Regions from separate parts of the Homo sapiens genome. Here region 2 is linked to region 1. The links are contacts of gene promoters, found by promoter capture Hi-C in blood cells and fetal thymus (Javierre and others, 2016). All regions are on one chromosome and are shown on one strand. Each heading gives the region's core, a stretch centred on a gene start or on the middle of the fragment in contact. The rest is flanking DNA. Distances are from core to core; before and after follow the strand shown.

Region 1 (5,509 bases), core at 1,378-3,877:
TAAATGAAATAATACTCTTGAAAGTGGCTGATACAAAATGTGTGCTCTGAATACATGCAGTGCCTTCTCTGAGGTCTCGGCTGTGTCTGCCTCTTTTTCCGCATGAGGCCTGAATAGTACTTCTTTTTTTCCTCTTTAATGTTACTTCTCAGGCCTCAGAGTGAGTTTCCTTCCTTTCCCAACATCTCCCCCAGAATGCAGTCTTCCCCTTTTCCCTCACAACTAACCCTCGGCACATCCCCTTTAAAGAGCCCCTTACTTTACCTCCCTCCAGGCACCATCTCCTGGGCCAGAGTTCTCTCTTAAGCAGAGAGCCACTTTCCTATACTCTCTTGTATTATTAGGGCTCCATATCCCAAACAGGAATGCTTGCTAAAAACTCTGTATGGTCCTCTTTGAAAGCTGAAACTGAGACATATTTCTCCCCAGTCTGTCCGTCCCCTGTTATGGGCCATGATGCCTGCTGCTCTCTGATGAAACTATAGTTTTTATGGTGTTACATCATCTCTATAGAAACTGCGTTCTTTCTCCATTATTAGCCTGTTTCCTCATCTGTAAAGCTAAAAATACTTACCTCACAGGCTTGCTGTAAGGATTATTTTAGTGAGGTATGCAAAGGGCTCAGCACAGAGCTTGGCCTGCTAGAAGTACCCAACAAAAGAGAGCTATTATCTTTGTCTTTGTATTGAGTTGCATGTTTCCACCTTCTGCTGCCACACTCAAATTCTCCTCACTCCCCCCTAAAAAACAGTTGAGAGATAACACCCCTGCACAAGGAAAGGGTTAATCTTTGAGTGTTCTTAACTAAAGAGACCCACAGAGGATTAACAGCTCCACTTCAGTGACTACCCTAAAATAGCTTTTATCCTCCTGCCCAAGAGTTACTTGGGGATCTGAAGAACTCAATTCAACACCTGCCGGAGGAAATAGACCCAGAACGTTCCTTGGGATAGAATCTTCCCTTAAGCAGAACCCAAAATAGCAACTGGGAAATTATAAATAGACTTAGAGGAAAGAAAAAACAAAACAAAACAAAACAAAAAACAGATCCTGATCTCAGAACCAGAAACAAATCCTAAAACACACTGGTTGGCTGGAAAACAGTGAGAAGAGGGGAAATGGGAATGCTGTCGCCCCCTTCCCCCCCGCCCACTCCAGAGTGGTGGGAGAATTAAATTACAGGGAGGCTGGAGAGTCTCAATGACTTGCACCATTCCAAGAAACATCAAACAGGATTAACAGGGGTTGGATTTACTCTCAGGCTGCTAATTCTTCTGTCAGTGTAGATGGGCCCTCTTTGGAGTCTCTTTGATTCACTATTTCCTCAGATTCCTGCTGCCTCCCACTCCTGGGGAGGCCTTGAACAAATGGCTGCAACTCATCACAACCCCATTTTCATGGGGAGAAAACGTGATTCGACACCCCCGCTCCCAATCTGGTGGCCTCACCTTAGGAGAGAAAGGTTAGAAACCCAAGACCAGACTCTACACACAGTCCCATGGCTGACAGGTGGAAAAACACACAAGCCAGGAGACAGGCTAAGCTTGCAGGTGAAAGCACCGATTCCCCCACACAGGTGTCCCCATATCCTCCACCTAACAGGCCCCTTTCTCCCCACCAAGGTGGGCCACAGCCTGGTCCCAGGCCAACTTTTAGATCACCCCACTGTGGTGTGGGAAAGGTTCAATTCCCCGAGCCTGGGAGAGATGGGAGTGGATGAGGGCTGGAGAAGCAAAGGAAATCCAGGGAGAAGTCTGGAGGGAGTCTCTGGGATGGGAAGGAAGAGCGAGGATGGGAAGGAATCATGAGCAACTTTCCTGGGTCTCTAAGGGATCCCCACAAGAATGAAATGGGGGATTATAAGGGCTGGAAGGCTGGGGGGATGGGGATAGTCAGAAGTGTATCCTCTGAATTTCAAGAGGGTCTCAAAATGGGTAACGGGATGGAAGATGTCGAAAGCCTGGGAGTATGGCCACTGAGGAGGGAACTACAGGTGGGGCTTATTCGACTTCTCCAGACCCAGATATTTGAGGGAAGCCTCAAAGGGAGTTATGTAAGTCTGGAAAATGAAACAGGGTACAGAGCGGGCTATCTGGAGCAGGAAAGGGGGTTATGTGGGTCTGGGTAGGCGTGTCGGAGGGAGGGAGCAGGTGCAGCTTATCTGCGTCCCCCAGACCCGGGTCCCTGGTAAGGTCAGCAGCGCCTTATCTGGGTCTCCAGGGAGCCTAGGGGTCGGGAATGGGGGACCCTCAGGACTGCGTCTCCAGGTCTCGGAAGGGAGGGGACCGGTGGCTTCCTCGGGTCCCCCAGACACAGGTATGGGGTCCAGGGAGAGTTTTCGTCACCCCAGGGCCTATCTGGGGCCGGGTTGGCGCAGACCGGGCCCCGGGTCGGGGGTGTGGGCGACCGCGCTGAGGGGCCCGAGATGAGGCGCGCCGCCGCTCCGGGTACAGGGCGCGCGGACGCAGCGAGACGGCCTCCCGCCCCTCTCCCCGCCGTCCCCTGGGGCCCTCGCCGGCACTCACCGCGCTCGGGGCCCCACGCTGCGGGCCGGGCCGCGCTCGGGCTCCGCCAGGCCCCCTCAGGCCCCGGTAGTGGCGGCGGTCGGGCCATTGTGCGGTGCATTGTGGGAGCCGCGCGAGCGGGCGCTCGGGTCGTGGAGGGGGCGGTGCCGCGGGATCTCTATGGTCCCGCCCGCCCGCGGGCTAGAGCGGCCGGGGCGGTGCGCGGGCGGCGCGCAGGGACCGCTGGGAGCGGGGCGGGCGCTCGCGTCCCTCCTTCCCTCCCCGACTGTGCGCCGCGGCTGGCTCGGGTTCCCGGGCCGACATGGGCGCCGCCGCGTGGGCACGGCCGCTGAGCGTGTCTTTCCTGCTGCTGCTTCTGCCGCTCCCGGGGATGCCTGCGGGCTCCTGGGACCCGGCCGGTTACCTGCTCTACTGCCCCTGCATGGGTAAGGCCTCCCAAGCCCTCTGCTCAGATGGAGAAACTGAGGCCGGGAGAGGAAAAGCCACTCCTCAGATGCGCCCAGAGACACCTTCACAGGTCCAGGAGAGAACCTCAGAGCGGGACGGGGCATGCTCTTCTCCTCTCTGCCTTAGTTGCAAGGGCACAGAGGGGCCAACGTGTCCAACTTTCCATTTGACAGATGAGAAAACTGAGGCTGGGAGAGGTTACGTGACTTGCTTGAGGTCTAAGCCAGTCCAGGGTCCAGTAAATGGAGTTAGTGGGGCAGGACTTGATGTCACTGACCCACGCTGGCTCCTGGTGATTTTTCATTGATTCAGCAAATATTTATGGGGCACCTATTCTGTGCCGGGCCCTGTTCTCTGTACTGGGAATACCGCAGTGAATAAGATAAACTCCGTGTCCTTGTAGAGCCTTCATTTTAGTTGGGGAAGACAAACAATTGAGAATAAGTAGGCCAGGCGCGGTGGCTCACTTCTGTAATCCCACCACTTTGAGAGACCGAGGCAGGATCACTTGAAGCCAGGAGCTCGAGATCAGCCTAGGCAACATAGTGAAAATCCAATCTCAAAAAAAAAAAAAAAAAAAAAAAGCAGAGCGTGGTATCGTGTGCTTGTAGTCCCTTGGGAGTTATCTGGGCGGCTACTTGGGAGGCTGAGGTGGGAGGATCTCTTGAGCCGAGGAATTCGAGGCTGCAGTGAGCTCTGATCGTGCCACCGCACTGCCAGCCTGGGTGACAGAGTGAGACCCTGTCTCGAAACAAGCAAACCCAAAAAGGGGTAAACATAAAACAATAAATACATAGTTTCATAGAGGATGATGAATACTAAGGGAAAATAAAGAGAGCAGGGTAGGGGAGAATCTAAAGACCATGCCAGGTGCACAGTTGAAATGGGTATGGTGGATCATCATTGTGGAAGTGGATGATCTTAAGGCCCCCAGTGGCTTCCAGACTCCTGACCATGACTTTCAGGGCCCTGAATGATGTGGCCTCCACTGGCCATCTCCACAACTCCCTTCTCTGCTGATCCTCCAGCTGCAGCCACACTTAACTCCTTTGCGTTCCTCACACATGCTCAGGTCTTCCAGTCTGCACTGCTGCAGGTGGCGGTCCCTATGCCTGGAATCCTCTCCTCCATTTCTGCCTGACCAGCTGTTTCCCATCCTTTAGATCTCAGCCTAAATGTCACCAGAAAGGATTTCACTGACCTCTACCCAAGTAATCTCCTCATTACCCTATCACCAAACTTTTTTCATCTCTTTCTGGCAATTATCAACATTTTTCATGTATTTGTTTACATGTTTAGTGTCTCTGCAGTGAACTGTGAGTGCCTTAGGGGCAGAGGCCTTGTCCTTCTTGTTCATTCCTGTATCCCAGCACCTAGCACAGAGTCTGGCACATTGTGGCCTCTCAATCATATTTGTGAAATGAATGAACAGGTGCCATGCTGGGATTAAGAAAAGGAATCACACAGGGTCCTTGCTTCTGAGGCATTCACAGGCTGAGGAATCAGCCAGTACGAAGGCCAGGAAGTGAGCAAAGATACTTGAGGAAAATTGAAGAACTGAAGTAGCTCAGAGCCAAGGTGGGAGGTAAAGGAGGGAGAGTGAGTATGGCAGGGGATTGGTGAAAGGAGCCCAGTGAATGAGGCATTCGAGTTGCCCGTCCATGTGCAGGTGAATGGAGATAGAGGTAGAAGCTCTTCTGGCTGAGGGACAGCAAGATCAGAGGCATTGGGTGGGGATGGGAATTGTAGAGCATGTTGGGGAAACAGCAAGAAACCTGGAGTGGCGGAAGCAGTTGTTGCAGGACCTGAAGAGCCTTGGATATCAGACCCAAGAGTCCAGACTTGTTCTTATGCTGCCAGCTCCCCTAGTTCTCCTTGGTATCCCTGACTTTCTACCCCTGGCTCCACAACCTTTCTGAGCCCTGCATGCTCTATGCCCTCCATGCCCCAGGCCTCACCTCACCCGCAATGTACCATTTCCAGGGCGCTTTGGGAACCAGGCCGATCACTTCTTGGGCTCTCTGGCATTTGCAAAGCTGCTAAACCGTACCTTGGCTGTCCCTCCTTGGATTGAGTACCAGCATCACAAGCCTCCTTTCACCAACGTGAGTACTTCCCACTGACCTTGGCCTTTCTCCGCCCTTTCTCAGTCTTGCTTACTTACACTTAACCCTCAAGTCCTCTGGGCTTTACCTCCCACTCCTCTGAGATTTCCCTACCTCCAGCCAGAACTGTCTTCACTGCAATAACAATGCCTAACATTTATTTATCCAGCACCTGTTGTGTGCGGCTGCATGAGAATTAGCTCATTTCACCCTCATCACTTGCCTGTGAGGAAACCGGGGTTTACAGAGGTTAGGTAACTTGCCCAAGATCACACAGCCTGTGAGTAGGAGAGCTGGAATTCAAAGCTATCTTTGTCTGACTCCAGAGCCTGTGACTTGAACCTAAAGCCTCCATTTCCTTCCCTGATTGGTCCTACCCTCTGTGCATTCCATTGGCCAAGGGTGGCAGATGCTATTATCAATTTTAAAGGA
Region 2 (5,993 bases), core at 3,125-5,624, 310 kb after region 1:
GGCACAGCTTCCCTGACCCCTGCCTCAGTCCACCCTCCAAGCCCACCCTAAGTACCCCCAGTGCCACGTGTCCTTCTGCACCATGGCAATGCCCCACTGATCACTTCCTCCATTGTTTATCACTGCCTGCTGTGAGCTGGGCATTTGTGTGGGATCCTCTGGCTGGTGTCTGTCTCCCCTAGATCAGAAGAAAATACAGGGATGCCAGCCGGAATCTCAGCACTTTGGGAGGCCTAGGCAGGCAGATTGCTTGAGCCCAGGAGTTCGAGACCAGCCTGGCCAACATGAGGAAACCCTGTCTCTACAAAAAATACAAAAAATTAGCAGGTGTGGTGGCAGGTGCCTGTAACCCCAGCTACTCGGGAGGCTGAGGCAGGAGAATCACTTGAACCCAGGAGGCAGAAGCTACAGTGAGCCGAGATTGGGCCACTGCACTCCAGCCTGGGTGGCAGAGTGAGACTCTGCCTCAAAAAAAAAAAAAAAAAAAAAAAGAAAAGAAAGAAAATCTAGGGGTACTGCTGTTTCTGTAAATCCTCAGAGCCTGGCTCACAGAACAGAGCTCCATAAATATTTGTGGAATGACTGAATCCTCGTTAAAGCACCTAACCCATAGTCTTAACTCCCCTCCTTCCATTGACGCAAGTGAAGATACAGTTAGGATTTTTAACCAGATCAAATATCTGATTTGTTAGTGAGAGATCGCAACTTGCACGACACTGACCACTACTGGTTCTAGTGGTGACCTGGATTTAGTGCCATTCTGTATGAAACAAAACCAGGGGGCTGTGCTTCCGGCTGTTTGTGCGGTTTTGTGCTTCATTCTTCATGGGCACAGATGAGCACGGTGATAACAGTGTTTACGAAGCCAGGTGCCGGAGACAGTGAGGATGGCTACAGGAAAGAAAGGCCACAGATTGCTCTTCAGTGGCAGTGAGAGGAGACCTAATGCAGAGGCTGCACAGTGGTGCTGGGATTCTATAACCAACAACAAAAGCAACACCCTCATTACCGACACTCCTGCAGCTCAAACTACTTTGCCTTTGTGCGTTGGAAACCCAACCCAAGCCCATTTTCCCCACTGGAATTATTTGTGATGATGTGAAGTTTTTGGAGATGCAACCATCCCAGAACAGGCACGCTCAGATGAGAAGACGTGGGAGACACAGTTCTAGCAAACAGTTCTACCGCTCAGAGCAAAGCCTACGTCACACAGCCTCTAGGGTCTGGGCACAGTGTGGGGACAGGAGGGCTGGCCGCCCTGCCTCTTGAAAGGAATACGCAGCTCTGCAGGTTCAAGCCACCCAGCTGAAGTCCTCAAACTGGGTAACACGGGCCAAGATGCCACCTGCACGTGTCCTGCTACATCACCATGGATCTGGCCAAGGAGCCACCACCCCCTCGGAGCACGCATGCTGGGGTTGTCAAGGAGACCAGTGCACAGGACGGCCGCACCCAGGGCTGGAGACCGGCAGCGCAGGACAGCTGCATCCAGGGCTGGAAGACAGACTCGAGTTCTGACCCATCTTTCAATGGGAGAGAAAGAATCCAATCCCCTGCTAGGGCCACAAGGACATGATGGGTTTGGATGCCATAAGAGATGAGAACACTCCAAGCTGAAGGCAAGAAGTGATTACCCTGGTTTTAGGCAGTGGTTGGGGGGTGGAGGTGGAGGGGAACTCACCTAGTCCTTCTTTGAAAGACAGTCAGGCTACGTGCTTTGCAAAGGGTTAGGAGGTGGACTGTGTGGGAAGGCAGGCGAGAGGGAGTTTCTTTTCATAGCCTGTTTCCATGGTGTCTCACGGCCCTTGGCAAACCCCAGCTGGGGAGGCTTGGACGGCCAGGAGGCCCCAGGTCCACCCTCCAAGGACTATCCCCTAGTCCTCTGGGCCCCAAGAGTGACAGAGGCCACAGGCAGGCGGCTACTCTCTCTTGCCTCCCTGGGGGAAGGTGGCAAGAGGCCAGCGATAAAGGGCAGAGCAGAGAAAGAACAACTCCAGGGGCCAGGGCTGCGGCTCCCTCCCTTCCACGTCCCCTCCTCCCCCTCCTCCCACGAGCCCACCCAAGGGGAAAGTTTTCTCCCTGAAGACCTGCAGGGCTGTCTGCACAGGAGACCCTCTCACGAGAAACACATTCTTGCCTCCCGCCTCTCCGCCTGGACAACCCAGATAACCAGATAAGGGCCTCTTTGATTTCCCGTGTGTTTACACAAGCTGTGGCCCCAAGTCTTGGAAAGAATCAACCACCGCCAGGCAAGTCAGGACGCCTCCAGGTGGGGTGAGGGGAGACGGCCGCCTTACCTGCTCCTGGGAATTCATCACTCGAAGCTTCATCTGCTTCAGGTAGGTGGAGGTGAGGGGCATGTTGTAATCAATAATCCCAGAGACCAGTGGAGATGGAGGCTCGTTTTCTGGCAGAAAGAACAAAAGGAAAGCCCTTTCAGTCTGTGCTGCGGGCCTGTTGCCCACATGGAGCATTTAACAGAGCCCGTGGAAGAGGAAGCCACCTTGGAGGAGAAGGGACAGGTCAGAGGTCGCAGACTCTGTGGCTCACCCACATCTGGCCCAGAGATGTGGACTGCATGGTGTCAAAAATATTTTTTTTTTATTAAATGCCAGTGTTCTATTTAGAGATTTCACACGTTAAAAAACAATGAGGCCGGGCGTGCTGGCTCATGCCTGTAATTCCAGCACTTTGGGAGGCCAAGGCAGGAGGATCCCTTGAGCCCCAGGAGGGGACACAGGCCCCAGGAGTTCGAGACCAGCCTGGGCAACACAGGGAGATCTCGTCTTTACAAATAATAAAATAAATTAGCCAGACGTGGTGGTGTGTGCCTGTAGTCCTAGCTACATAGGAGGCTGAAGTGGGAGGATCGCTTGAGGCCAGGTGGTCAAGGCTGCAGTCTGCAGTGAGCTGTGATGGCACCACTGCACTCCAGCCTCAGCAACAGAGTGAGAATCTATCTCTAAAAAACAAACAAAAAAACCCAGCAAACCCACCCCCACAACACACACACACGTTTATAGGAATTTTTGGCTTCTTTGAAGAACATAAGGTCTGGCCACATGGGGCCCCCACTCCCGAAGGCAAGCAACCACTGCCACTTCAGCAGCCACTTCTTTTAGACAGGGTGTGTGGCTCCCATTTTGCCACAGTCCCCACCACTCCTTATCATATTGCACAGCTTTGCTCATTTGCAAGTATCAATTATGATACTTGCCAGACCCTTGAAGGCATCTGTGTTTCCAACCACTGTCTAAGTCAGTTATCTTCCAGGTGAACACATGCCACTCTCACCTCACCCAATCCCGCCACCCCATAGCATCCCCCAAAAACATCCTCAGGTGCCTTATGCCTCCCAGGTCTGAGCCAGGCCTTCAGTAGCCCCCAAATTCTGGTTCCTCCTTCATCATATGCAGAGGAACATTCTCCTCCCATTTATTCCTTTGTTGTCCTGAAGATCAAAGTGATGCATGTTCTTTTTGCAGAGAATTTGCAAAGTACAGAAAGATGTAAAGAAAAAATTTAAAAACCATAATTGCACCACGCAGCTTGGCATATGCTTCTGTTTATTTTTTCCCTGTGATTTTTCTTTTTTACACATGATCTCATAATGCATACAGAGAATTCCAGTCTGCTTTTAAAAAGTTTTTTTTTCCTTAACATTTTGTCATAGGTATTTTCCCCAACATCAAGAATCTTATTTTGCTTTGTAAGTAGAATTTTTATGGCCATGTAATATTTTACCATAATTTGCTTAAGTCATTCTCTAACGATTGGCTATTTAGGTTGTTCCCATTGGGGCTATTATAAACAACACTGCAGGGGACATCTTTGTGCATAAATATTGCTCCGTATTTCTGATCTTATTTCTTGCCTTTTTGGAACAGATTACAAGAAATTAAAAGGTAGGGACATAATTTGATAACCATTAAAATCTCTGACCAAGCTGCTGTAGGAATTGTTTCAATTACTTGTTACCTGGCCTCCTCCTCCTTCTTCCAAGGACTTCAGGCCAGATTCATTTTGCCCCAGCCTTTTAATCAAAAGGTGCCCCTGGTACATAGTCCCACTGATGGGCTGGGATTTCCATAGCGTGAGGAAAAGTGGGAGCAACTTCCAGACCAAGTGCCCTCTACCATCACAAGGAGGCCCAAGAGACAGGCTGCAGGGTGACAGGGCCGAGGTCCAGGAGGACCAGAGGATATCCGGGGGTGACTTATAATACCTGCCCCTCAAGAGCCATAGCCCAAAAGGGTCCCTGCAACCTTGAAAACGCGATACCAAGGGCAAGAAGCCAGACATAAAACGACAACCACTGTATGATTCTACTTACACGAAATACTTAGAATAGGCAAATTCAAAGAGACAGAAAGTAACTCGAGGTTACTGGGGACTGGTGGCTGAGGGAATGGGACGTTATTGCTTAATGGGTACAGAGTTTCTGTTTAGGGTGATGAAAAAGTTTTGGAAATAGATAGTGGTGATGATTGCTCAACAGTGTGAATATAATATCTTTAAAATGGAACGATTAAGCCGGGCACGGTGGCTCACGCATGTAATCCCAGCACTTTGGGAGGCAGAGGCAGGAGGACTGCTTGACCCCAGGAGTTCAAGGCCAGCCTGGGAAACATAGTGAGTCCCTCGTCTCTACTAAAAGGTAAAAATGTTAGCTGGGTGTGGTGGCACGTGCCTGAAGTCCCAGCTACTCGGGAGGCTGAGGTGGGAGGATCACCTGAGCCCAGGACGTTGAGGCAGCACTGCGATCCAGCCTGGGTGACAGAGACTGTGTCTCAACAACAACAACAGAAACAAACAAACAAAATTATTAAAAAGGCAAGTTTTTGTGCTGTAAATGTTTTACCATAATTTAAAAAGGAAAAAAAGTCTGCCAACAAGCGGTGAAGTTACCCAAAGAGGACAAGGGAAGTTCCTGCTTGGCAAGGATAGGAACAGCCCTGCAGAAAAGGTGGGGACCCGGAATAGCTGGGGCCTAGAGGATGGGGGTCCTCTTTGACGCTGTGTACTTCTGGTGACTTTATAGATCAAATAACATTTTGAATAAAGTTTTACAGGAATGCAGAACTTAGTTTTGCTCTTTAAAGCTACCCTGTCACATATAGAATGTTTCATTCTTTGTTCTTTGAGGAAGAAGTAGACGTCGGCTGGGTGTGGTGGCTCACACCTGTAATCCCAGCACTTAGGGAGGCTGAGGCAGGCGGATCACCCGAGGTCAGGAGTTGGGAGACCAGCCTGACCAACATGACAAACCCCCACTCTCCTAAAAATTCAAGAATTAGCTGGGCATGGTGGCGCATGCCTGTAATCCCAGCTACTTCAGAGGCTGAGGCAGGAGAATCACTGGAACCCGGGAGGTGGAGGTTGCAGTGAGCCAAGGTCATGTCATTGCACTCCAGCCTGGTGACAGAGCAAGACTCCGTCCCAAGGAAAAAAAAAAAGTAAATGTCACTAATGGAATGGCTAAGAAACTGGCCTGAAAGGAACCACCCCCTCCTCCTCCTTTTTTTAAGAGAGACTTCTGCTTGGTTGGGTGGCAGGGATCCTCTGCACCGATACCAAACTCAAATGGGTTTCCACCCCACCGTCAACCTAGATTTGACTTTCTTAACCTCAGTGGGGTTTTAAACCCTAGCCCCATACATTGACCGGGTCGGATGCCACATGTCAGGCAGGCAGTCTAGTGATGACACTGAGATGGTATCGCTCAGAAGAGCCGTGGGTCCTGTTTTCAGAGGTGGATGTTTGGACTGAGAATTCTGCCATTTCTGTTTCCTCTAAGAGGAGGCTGTCTGGTGAGAAGCTGTTAAGCACCATGGTGAGTGTGACATCATGGTGAGTGTGAAGGGCGCCCAGCACTCTCGCGGCCCCGGTCGGCCCTTCGTTGGGTGTTGCAGGGATTGTCTAGGTTTGGGAGGCACGGAGGCGGGGAGCTGTGTTCTTCTACTGATGGTCGCCCCTGTCCTGACTGCAGTGTC

The links. The method cuts DNA at HindIII sites, captures the fragments that hold promoters and counts their contacts. A CHiCAGO score of 5 or more calls a contact.
Region 2: a fragment that was not itself captured here is called in contact with the fragment with the promoter of PLAGL2 in region 1 in 1 of 17 cell types (endothelial precursors); the score reaches 5.3 in endothelial precursors.

Annotation. Positions count from the first base shown.
Region 1 is chr20:32,205,116-32,210,624 of GRCh38, forward strand. It overlaps PLAGL2 (PLAG1 like zinc finger 2), which reads right to left and starts at 2,628. Exons shown (of 3, transcript NM_002657.3): 1 at 2,526-2,628. It overlaps POFUT1 (protein O-fucosyltransferase 1), which reads left to right and starts at 2,765. Exons shown (of 7, transcript NM_015352.2): 1 at 2,765-2,950; 2 at 4,956-5,077. The coding sequence starts at 2,827. RefSeq lists enhancers at 634-683, 2,599-3,512, 2,975-3,104 and a silencer at 2,415-2,834. The HindIII fragment of the contact is 5,170 bases long and covers 1,542-5,509 here.
Region 2 is chr20:32,509,050-32,515,042 of GRCh38, forward strand. It overlaps NOL4L (nucleolar protein 4 like), which reads right to left. Exons shown (of 11, transcript NM_001256798.2): 4 at 2,298-2,407. LOC101929698 (a long non-coding RNA gene) reads left to right here and starts at 910. Exons shown (of 3, transcript NR_110619.1): 1 at 910-1,619; 2 at 2,166-2,339. RefSeq lists a silencer at 1,929-2,324. The HindIII fragment of the contact is 4,104 bases long and covers 2,323-5,993 here.